Regions from separate parts of the Homo sapiens genome. Here region 1 is linked to region 2. The links are contacts of gene promoters, found by promoter capture Hi-C in blood cells and fetal thymus (Javierre and others, 2016). All regions are on one chromosome and are shown on one strand. The core of a region is centred on a gene start or on the middle of the fragment in contact, and the rest is flanking DNA. Distances in the headings are between cores, read along the strand shown.

Evidence for each region. The method cuts DNA at HindIII sites, captures the fragments that hold promoters and counts their contacts. A CHiCAGO score of 5 or more calls a contact.
Region 1: a fragment that was not itself captured here is called in contact with the fragment with the promoter of NLRX1 in region 2 in 1 of 17 cell types (non-activated CD4 T cells); the score reaches 5.0 in non-activated CD4 T cells.

The regions. Positions count from the first base shown.
Region 1 is chr11:118,614,273-118,619,117 of GRCh38, forward strand. PHLDB1 (pleckstrin homology like domain family B member 1) reads left to right here. Exons shown (of 23, transcript NM_001144758.3): 3 at 287-410; 4 at 1,769-1,939. Among named protein-coding and RNA genes, the nearest start is that of PHLDB1, 9.1 kb to the left of the region's middle. RefSeq lists enhancers at 1,179-1,696, 1,697-2,213, 3,766-4,281. The HindIII fragment of the contact is 5,173 bases long and covers 1-3,979 here.
Region 2 is chr11:119,166,053-119,170,917 of GRCh38, forward strand. It overlaps NLRX1 (NLR family member X1), which reads left to right and starts at 2,673. Exons shown (of 10, transcript NM_001282144.2): 1 at 2,673-3,250. RefSeq lists a silencer at 2,582-3,191 and enhancers at 2,763-3,468, 3,469-4,173. The HindIII fragment of the contact is 14,996 bases long and covers 1-4,777 here.

The DNA.
Region 1 (4,845 bases), core at 143-2,642, 550 kb before region 2:
CACCCCCACCCCCCACCCCTTTCTCCTTGCTTCTGTTTTAATAGACAAAAGGCACAGTTAAGCCAAGACTTGCGATAAATCCAGTGGGATGAGTTAGTGGCCTAGATTCAGATCTAATTACAATTTAGTGGAATCATGCTCTGTGTAAGATTTTGTGCTAAGCCTTTCAGCACCCTCAGAGCCCTTCGGAGAGGGGCGAGGGCTGGAGAGAGTGCTGGTGTGACTGGTTTAGGGTGGTAAGGTGCTGAATCTAATGATGCTTGTCCTCCACCCGTACTACCTACAGAAAGGACCCTTGGACCTGATCGAGACAGGCAAAGGGCTGAAAGTGCAAACGGACAAACCCCACCTGGTGAGCCTGGGCAGTGGGCGACTCAGCACAGCCATCACCCTCCTGCCGCTGGAGGAAGGTAAGTGTGAACAGGGCATCTCACTCACCACCCCTCTATCCTTATAGGCATTCCTGCCCTGGAGGCCCACCTCCTGCATGTGTTGGGGCCCTTCTACTGTCTGCTGGTGCTCGCCTCCCCACACCACCAGCTTGCTTCCCTTGTCTCTGCCTCCCCAGACTGCCTGCCTTCCTTGGTAGATGATCTGGTTCCACGACTGGGCTTAAAGATCAGCTTAGAAACAAGGAGGAGAGGCCAGGTGTGGTGGCTCACGCCTGTTATCCCAGCACTTTGGGAGGCTGAGGCAGGCGGATCACGAGGTCAGGAGTTCTAGACCAGCCTGGCCAATATGGTGAAACCCCATCTCCACTACAAATACAAAAATTAGCCAGGCGTGGTGGCACGGGCCTGTAGTCCCAGCTACTCAGGAGGCTGAGGCAGAAGAATCGCTTGAACCCAGGAGACAGAGGTTGCAGTGAGCCGAGATCGTGCCACTGCACTCCAGCCTGGGCAACAGAGCGAGACTCTATCTCAAAAAAAAAAAAAAAAAAAAAAAAGAAGAAGAAAAGAAACCATGAAGAAAGCACTGAGAGAAACAGGAGAACACATTGCTCTTAGCAACCAATGTGGCCAAGAAGAAAAAGGGCCCCGCTCCAGGGCATTGTCTTGCATGGGAGGGTATACCATAGATGGAGAATGGAGAGATGGGAGTCAGGGCAAGATCTCCCAAGATGAGGCCCTGGCACAGCCCCCTTCACCTTTCAGCTTCTGCCCGCCCTCTCTACTCTCCTGGCTGCACTTGTTGCCTGGGTGATACTACATTCTCCACATTCTCCAAATACCAGTCCCAGGGGCTCTGTCAGCGGGAGGGGCTGTTCTTGCTGCAGTTAGGGGAGAGCCTGCACTGAAGAGAGAGGTTGCACTGAAGAGAGAGGTTAGCAAGGGAGACGAAGTGTTGCAGGTAGCAGAAGCGGGGGAGAGAAGAAGGAGAGAAAGGGAGATTTAGAAGAAATGAGGAGTAGGATGAAGGGGAAAAAGGATAAAGGACAATAGGGAGAGGCAGTTGGGGGAATAAGGGAAGATCTGCAGAAAAGCAGTCTTCCTTCTCCATCTGTGGAGTCTAGGTCCTACTGTGTGCTGTCTGGGTCTTCCCATCTCTGGGCCTCCCATTCTCAGGCAGAGTTTTCTCTGTTTGAGAACAGCGTCCATCACTTACTGTATAGACCAGGCTCAGGGGCCTAGTAGGGGTGGCCAGTGGTGGGCAGAGATTCTCCCTGGAGTAGGAGGTGGAAATATGTTTCCACTGTGGCCCTCCTTGCCCTGTCACTGCCTCCTCAGCCTGGACAACCCCTCTGATTCAGTTTGCCTCTTGTCTCCAGGGAGGACGGTGATTGGCTCTGCAGCCAGAGACATCTCACTACAGGGCCCAGGCCTGGCTCCAGAGCACTGCTACATCGAGAACCTGCGGGGCACCCTCACCCTCTACCCCTGTGGCAATGCCTGCACTATTGATGGGCTCCCTGTCCGGCAGCCTACCCGGCTCACTCAGGGTAAGGCTGGACACCTCCAGATGGAGGGGGCCTCTGTTTAAAGGCTTGTGTGTATTAGGCACAGGGGAGGCTGGCTGTGGTGGTTGCCATGGTAACTGCCTGAGTGACCATACTGGGAATGGAGTACTCAGGTGCATCTGGATGTGCCTAAACAACATCCCAAACCCTTTCAGCATCCAGACATGTTTTCAACCTGCTTTTCTTCTCTGGTCACCCCCAACCTGTCTCCACATACTATGGGGAGAGAAGAGGTTCTGATTCCCGCCATCAGAGGGCCTGGGGCATGATGGCGTTGTTAATGGTTGTTGGGGAAGAGCAATTGGAGCAGCAGTGAGAGGGTATCAATGGCATTGTTCCATGATGCCAAGAGGAAGTTGTTTTGAGAAGCTGGAGAGGAGGACAATACTTCCTGATGGGGATGGGGCAAGGGTAAATCTCAGGACATGCCTGCTCCTGTTACAAGACTGCTGACAGTAACTTTTGGGTCACGAATATAACCCAAAGCAATAGGCCATTCTGTTGTGTAAGGTAGCTCTAAAAACTAGGCCCCTGGCTAGGCATGGTGGCTCACGCCTACAATCCCAGCACTTTGGTAGGCCGAGGTGGGTGGATCACTTGAGGACAGGAGTTCGAGATCAGCCTGGACAACATGGTGAAACCCTGTCTCTACCCAAAATACAAAAATTAGCCACACGTGGTGGCACACGCCTGTAGTCCTAGCTACTCGGGAAGCTGAGATAGGAGAATCGCTTGAACCTGGGAGGCAGAGGTTGTAGTGAGCTGAGATGGCACCATTGCACTCCAGCCTGGGCAACAGAGCAAGACTCCGTCTCAAAAAATAAATAAATAAAAAATAAAAATAAATAAAAACTAGGCCCATAATTACTATGGTTAGCAGGCAGGTAAGCGGTTGGCCCAGGTAGCACTTTGACAGACCAGGTGTGCTCACCCTGGAAACAGGGTTCTGGGCATCAGTTCATACAGTGAGTTGTCAGATTAGGAGAATGAGAAAAACAGATTTGGGTGGAGGTTAGAGGTGAAGTTAAAGGCTAACAGCAGGACAGGAACTTTGGGCTAAGCCTGGCTCTGAGCAGGCTCTGATGGTCTGGCATTGTTTTCTGGGGGCTCTTACTGCCTAGAAGCCCCTTGGAAGTGGCCATCCTACTCACTCCACTGTCTCCTTCTCTCCTCTTCATCCTCCTTAAGGCCTTTCAATGTCACTTCCTTCACAGCTGATCCAGGAGACCTGACATTTCCCCCGTCTTTTTTTTTGATACGGAGTCTCACGCTGTTGCCCAGGCTGGAGTGCAGTGGCATGATCTCGGCTCACTACAACCTCCACCTCCTAGGCTCAAGCGATTCTCCTGCCTCAGCCTCCCAAGTAGCTGGGATTACAGGCACCTGCCACCGCCCGGCTAATTTTTTTTTTTTGACCCCAGTCTTTTCTTCCTGCCCTCGGGTAGGGGGCAGGGCATGGACAATTGACTTCAGGGAGGCAGGTCCACCAGCAGCAGTACGTAGGCCCTTGCCTTCTCCAGGGATTCAAGGTCTCTGACTTTGGATGAGAGGAGGAACCCCCAAAAATTGGGGCTTGGCTATGATGGCAGTGGGTTCCTAACAGTCCTGTTCAGTCTCAGAGAGAGCATCTTCTCTAAGATTTGGGAGCATGGAGATGAGACAATAGAGCAGCAAGGAGAGGCAGGGCAAAGTTCAAAGAAGGCCCAGCACTTACCACCCCCGCCCCAAACCCATCACATTCATCGGTAAGAACATTGTTCCCCTGCATGTTGTGAGCAGGGTATGCTTCTGTTGTCCAGTCTTTCCAATGCATCATTTAGCTCCCTGAGAAGGGGAGAGCCTAGGGCTAAGATGGAATTCTGAAGCATTTCCTGTGGCCCCAGTGACCCTTCCCGACTCTTCTCCAGCCAGAGGCCTACCCAGCCAAGTATGTACCCTCCCACTCTCTTCTGACCCTAAACCCCTTCCCATTTTCCCTCCCCAACCCCCATAGCCTTCTTGTCTGGGCTCGCCTGTCTCAGAAGCTTGGCAGCCTGTGGAGGGGTAGGCAGAGGCACAAAGGAATGGGTGTTCTTCTCCCCAGTCCTCCCCCTCCCCTGGGCTCCAGGAGCTGAGGGTTTCCTTGTCTCATCTCTGGAGCAAGGCACCAAGCCCAGCCCTGCCTGGCCCCACTCCGGACATTCTTGGGAGTGTGTTTCCCTGGAAACTGGGTGGCTCGGGGGTGCATGTGCTATCTCTGTGTGTCTGTGTAACCGGAGTGTGTTTATGTAGCTCCGGATGTGTTTGTGACTCTGGGCTTACGAATCCTGTGTTTGTGTCTTTCCTTGTGTTTATCGATCAGTGTGTTCAAGTGGGCGGCAGGGGTGAACTCAGGACTGATGGTACCAAAATGTCTGTGTGTGTACTCCTATGTGTATATGAGACCCCACTAGTCATATGCCTATCTGTGAGCATATATACAAGACGATCATTTTCCCTACCTTGTTCCCCTAATCTGGCCTTGTAGACGGGACCCTCCTCTTTCAAAAACAAGGGCTACTCTGGGAATAACAAGGAGTGTGCTTTGGCCTTAGATGCATCATTCTGGGCACTGTGCCCAGCCATAGGCAACTTGGAGAGACACACTTCATGACAAGCAGAGATGGCAGTGACAGGCTCTTCCAGCAGGAATATGCCTGGGCCAGGGGAAAGGGGAGGCAGGCAGAAAACAGATGCCAACCTTTAGCACAGAGCTATGAACATAGGAGCATGAAGTGAGGGAGCCAGGAAGGTCCTGATTCCACCCCCTGTACCCAGGCATCTCGGCACATCCCACATTGCCCTCTTCTCTACAGAGCAAGGGGTGGAGCTGGGAATAGGACCAAGGGAATGAGGAGGAATCTCAATCT
Region 2 (4,865 bases), core at 1,423-3,922:
TTCTATTATGTTGCCCAAGCTGGTCTCAAACTCCTGGGCTCGAGTGATCCTTCTGCCTTAGCCTCCCAAAGTGCTGGGATTACAGGTGTGAGCAACCACACCCCGGCCTCATGCTATAACTTTTTTTTTTTTTTTTAGACAGAGTCTCACTCTGTAGCCAAGGCTGGAGTGTGTAGTGGCATGATCGCGGCTCACTGCAACCTCTGCCTCCTGGGTTCAAGCGATTCTCCTGCCTCAGCCTCCTGAGTAGCTGGGACTACAGGTGCCTGCCACCAAGCCTGGCTAATTTTTTTGTATTTCTAGTAGAGACGGGGTTTCACCACGTTGGTCAGGCTGGTCTCGAACTACTGACCTCAGGTGATCCACCCACCTCGGCCTCCCAAAGTGCTGGGATTATAGGGTGAGCCACTGCACCGCATCCTAGGTCAGACAACAGAGGACATGCCCACGGCATGACTCACAGTACTTCTGTCTGCAAGAGGCCAGTCAAAGTATATGTTATTAATAAAACCTACATGGTTGTCGTACCCATGGGGAAGGTGACAGGGGAGGAAAACAGATTGCTCTGAGCTGTGTCCAGGAACTGCTGCCAGGTGACTGTCTTGCATGGCTAGGTAAGTGGAATGAAGCTAGAGGAGATTACCAGGCCCAAACTGTCACCCATGAGACTACATTCATGGGGTTCCTATACTTCCCCTCCCACATCCTATTCTACTCCCCTTGAAGAACCTCTTTTAAAATGCAAATGTGTTGTTCACCCTGCTGCTGGGATGCCCTGCCTTTCCTTTCTCTGATTTATTTATTTATTGAGACAGGGTCTCTCTCTGTTGCCCAGGTTGGAGTGCAGTGGTGCAATCTTGGCTCACTGCAACCTCCGCCTCCCAGGTTCAAGCAATTCTCCTGCTTCAGTCTCCTGAGTAGCTGTGATTATGGGCATGTGCCACCATGCCCAGCTAATTTTTTGTGCTTTTGTTTTTATTTTTGAGACACGGTTTTGCTTTATCTCCCAGGCTAGAGTGCAGTGGCATGATCTCGGCTCACTGCAACCTCTACCTCCCAAGTTCAAGCAATTCTTGTGCCTCAGCCTTCTGAGTAGCTGGTACTACAGGCCCATGCCACCACGTCTGGTTGATTTTTTTTTTTTTTTTGATACAGAGTCTTGCTCTGTCTCCCAGGCTGGAATGCAGTGGCGTGATCTTGGCTCACGGCAACCTCCGCCTCCTGGATTCAAGCGATTCTCCTGCCTAAGCCTCCTGTGTAGCTGGGACTGCAGGCATGCACCACCCAGCCCGGCTAATTTTTGTATTTTTAGTAGAGATGAGGTTTCACCACGTTGCCTAGGTTGGTCGTGAACTTCTGAGCTCAGGCAATCCGCCTGCCTTGGCCTCCCAAAGTGCTAGGATTACAGGCATGAGCCACCATGCCTGGCCAATTTTTGTTATTTTTAGTAGAGACGGGGGTTTCACCATGTTGGCCATGGTGACGAGTTTGAGCTGGTCCCAAACTCCTGGCCTCAGGAGATCTGCCCTCACCCCCAGCCTTCCAAAGTGCTGAGATTACAGGTGTGAGCCACCGCGGCTGGTCCTCTGATTTATTTTTTCAGATCCAGTACAAATGTTACCTCCTCTGCACTCCCTTTTCCAGACTCTCCTAATGCCTTGCCTCTGCCACTGAAGTACATCATTTGTTTGTCTGTTTTTTATATTTTTATTTTCTATTTTCATTTTAAATAGAGACAGGGTCTCACTATGTCACCCAGGCTGGTCTCAAACTCCTGGTCTCAAGTGATCCTCCTGCCTCGGCCTTGAAGTACATCATTTGTAAATGTGGTAGTTGATTCCATTAAAGTGAGGTGCCTGCCTTGCTGTGGTTGGCAGCCCAGGGCCTAGTGCTGGACCTGGCTTGTGGGGGTGAGGTGCTCAGTGCTACCCAATACCACAGTACAACGAATGAACAAATGTCTAAATGAAACATCCACATTGTTTTCAGTAAGTCCTCTTCCCAGCCCTGCCCTGGAGAGCCTCTCTGTGGGTGCCCTAGTGCACAGCTCTGTTGTGTGAACATCGTACACTCATGCTTGCATACGAAGGCGTGCCCTGGCTGTGGGTGGTGGGTGGCTCCTCCTTCTGGGCTACGTGAGCCCAGGGTGTGGAAGTGTGTGGAAGTGTAGGGATAAGGGTGGGGGCTTTGGGAACTGGGAAGCCCCAGGGCTAGGCCATGAATGGGTGTCAGACCCGAAGAGCAGGTTGGGGTGCAAGTTGTCCTTCAGCCCCCATTCTTCCTTCTTTCTTAACCAAGGTTACCAGCAGCCACACACATAGGTCTGGGCTCTGAAGAGGACCGGATACATAAGGCAGAACCCAAGGAAGCCTTAGGCTCAGGTCTCTGCCTGAAGGTAGGCTGGGGAGGCGGAGAGGGACAGAGGGAAGAATCCCCTGGACACCGCGCCTCAGGGAGGCCCAGGGGTAAGGTAGGAAGACTCAGGCCCGGGATGTTGTTCTGGCTCATCCACTTCCTAACTGAATCAACCTGCACAAGTCATTTCACCCTTCTGAGCATCAGTTTCTTCATCTGTAAAATGGGCCTAACAAGCAGCCCAGCCTGGGAGGTGGTTAGTGAGGTCACTGGGTGTCACTGGCGCTTGGGAACCTGCAGAGGGCAGTACTAGCGGCAGTGCCCGCGGGGATGGAGGCAGGGAGGGGGGACGATGGCGGGACGGGTGGCGCCGGGGTTCCAGCCCTGCGCCTGCTCCGGAGCACCGGGCCCCTCTCGCTGACCCCCTCGTCCCAGGACCCCGCAGGCCCGAGTGCCTGGGCTCGTCCTCTTTCGCGCCCGCTGCCAGGTGCCAGGGCCGCGCAGGCGGGCGGAGGTGGGCAGGAAGCGCCACGCCGAGGAGCCGGGGACTCTGGGAGCTAGCGGGAGACGCCGGCGTCCGCCCAGCCGACCCCTCTGGGCCGCGGCCGACGGCTCCCGGAACTGGGCAGCCGCGGGTAAAGGCCTAGCGGGCTTGATAACCCCTGCGCCCTGGCTGGGAGGCCGCGCTGAGCGGGGGGCAGGGCGGGCCGGGGGAGGAGGCTGTGCAAGGGCCGCGGGGAGATCCCGGCCGAGAACGAGAGGGACGGAGCTGGGCGCTGAATGGCGGGCGTTCTGGCAAGTCTCCCCCTGCGTTCCCGAGGCCACCCGAAAGTAGGAGAGCTGTTTGGGACCCAGTTTGGTGGAGGAGCTCTGGACCTGTAGGAACACCGCCCCTGTACGTTTCCTGCAGTGCCCCCTCCTTTTCTCATTGCCCTGGAGACCTGGGTGATCACCGGAGAACTGCCCTCGGCCCCGCAAGTCCCGTCTTGACTCAGTGGCCCTAGATCCGAGGTTAAACCGGAACCTAGGCTTTCTCAGGCTTCTGGAGCCCTCTCTTAACCCTTCCGCAGCCCCTGGGACGGGCCAGCACCCAGCCAGCTCCTCCGCTGGTTGGCCCTGCTAAGGCAGGTGGCCCAATGCAGCCAGTTCTCCTTAAGCGTACCCTGCCCAAGAAGCCCCGATCTCAGTGGAGGAGACCAGGTGCCAAATAGGGGCACATTCCATTTAAGTGAGTTCAGAGGCCTCAGAAAAGACTTCCCAGGGACGGAGACTTTTGAGCAGGATCTTAAAAGATTGGTTGGGGCCCGAGTGGTGGCTCGCGCCTGCAGTCCCCGCACTTTGGGAGGGCAAGGCGGGCGGATCACTTGAGCCCAGGAGTTCGAGACCACCCTGGGCAACAATGGTGAAAACCCCGTCTCTACAAAAACCAAAGCCAAAAATTAGCCAGGTGTGGTGGCACACCACTTTAGTCCTAGCTACTCAGGAGGCTGAAGCAGGAGGATGGCTTGAGCCCAGGAGGTAGAGGTTGCTGTGAGCTGAGATCGTACTACTGCACTCCAGCCTGGGCAACAGAGCGAGAGACCCTGTCTCAGGAAAAAAAAAAAAAAAAAAAAAAAAAAAAAAAAAATTGGTTGGGACTCTAACAGAGGAAAAAGGTCATTCCAAACTGGGAAGAGTGTATGAACAAATTTAGGACAGCAAGAGCAAGAATCCGGTGAGCCTGGGGTATAAGGCACAGGCTGGGACAAACTCAGAAAAATAGCTTGTGGGAGCCCAGTGTTTGGACTCTATAAGTAACCTTGGACTTTTCGGGAGGTGCTTGGTGCTTGGGGTGAGGGATTAGAATGGGATGAGACTGAAGGCAGAAAGGCTGGTGAGGAGATCGGGTCCAATAAATGCTGGTCGGGGCAGCAACTGGCTGGCAAAGCAGTGGGGAGGAATTGCTAGGACTCTTCACACTGCCTAAAGGAGCAAGGGAAGAAAGATTTGAAGAGAGAGGTCAGGTTTCTAATGTAAGGCGTGGGTGGGAAGATTTGCAGCAAGGTAAATGACAAGAGGAGGGGAATGATGAGTTCAGTTTTACATGGGAGAAGTTTGAAGCAGTGGCAGGTTGTCCATCTGGAGATGTCAAGTGAGAAGTTCATTCATTTATTTATTATTTATGTCAGCCTCAAAGGCTGCTTACATAAAAGTCACAGAGAACATAAAATGATGAAGCCATTAAAACTCAGCTAAAAGGATCTGATATCTGCGGAAGAAAGGCAGAGTGGGGTGGATAATTATTACTGGAAAATCTAGGCACAGAAAAGCCACTGAAAATGAACACAGGACTCCTATCTGAGCTTGCTGGTGGCCAAGAAGGAAAAAGGACACCTAAATAAAGCAGTTTACCAGGGTGGAACTCAGGGAAAGGTGTTCGTGAAGCTTCAGGGGAGAGGCAAGACGTGGCAGGAAGGCCAGGTGTGATGGCTCACACTTGTAATCCCAGCACTTTGCAAGGCCAAGGCAGG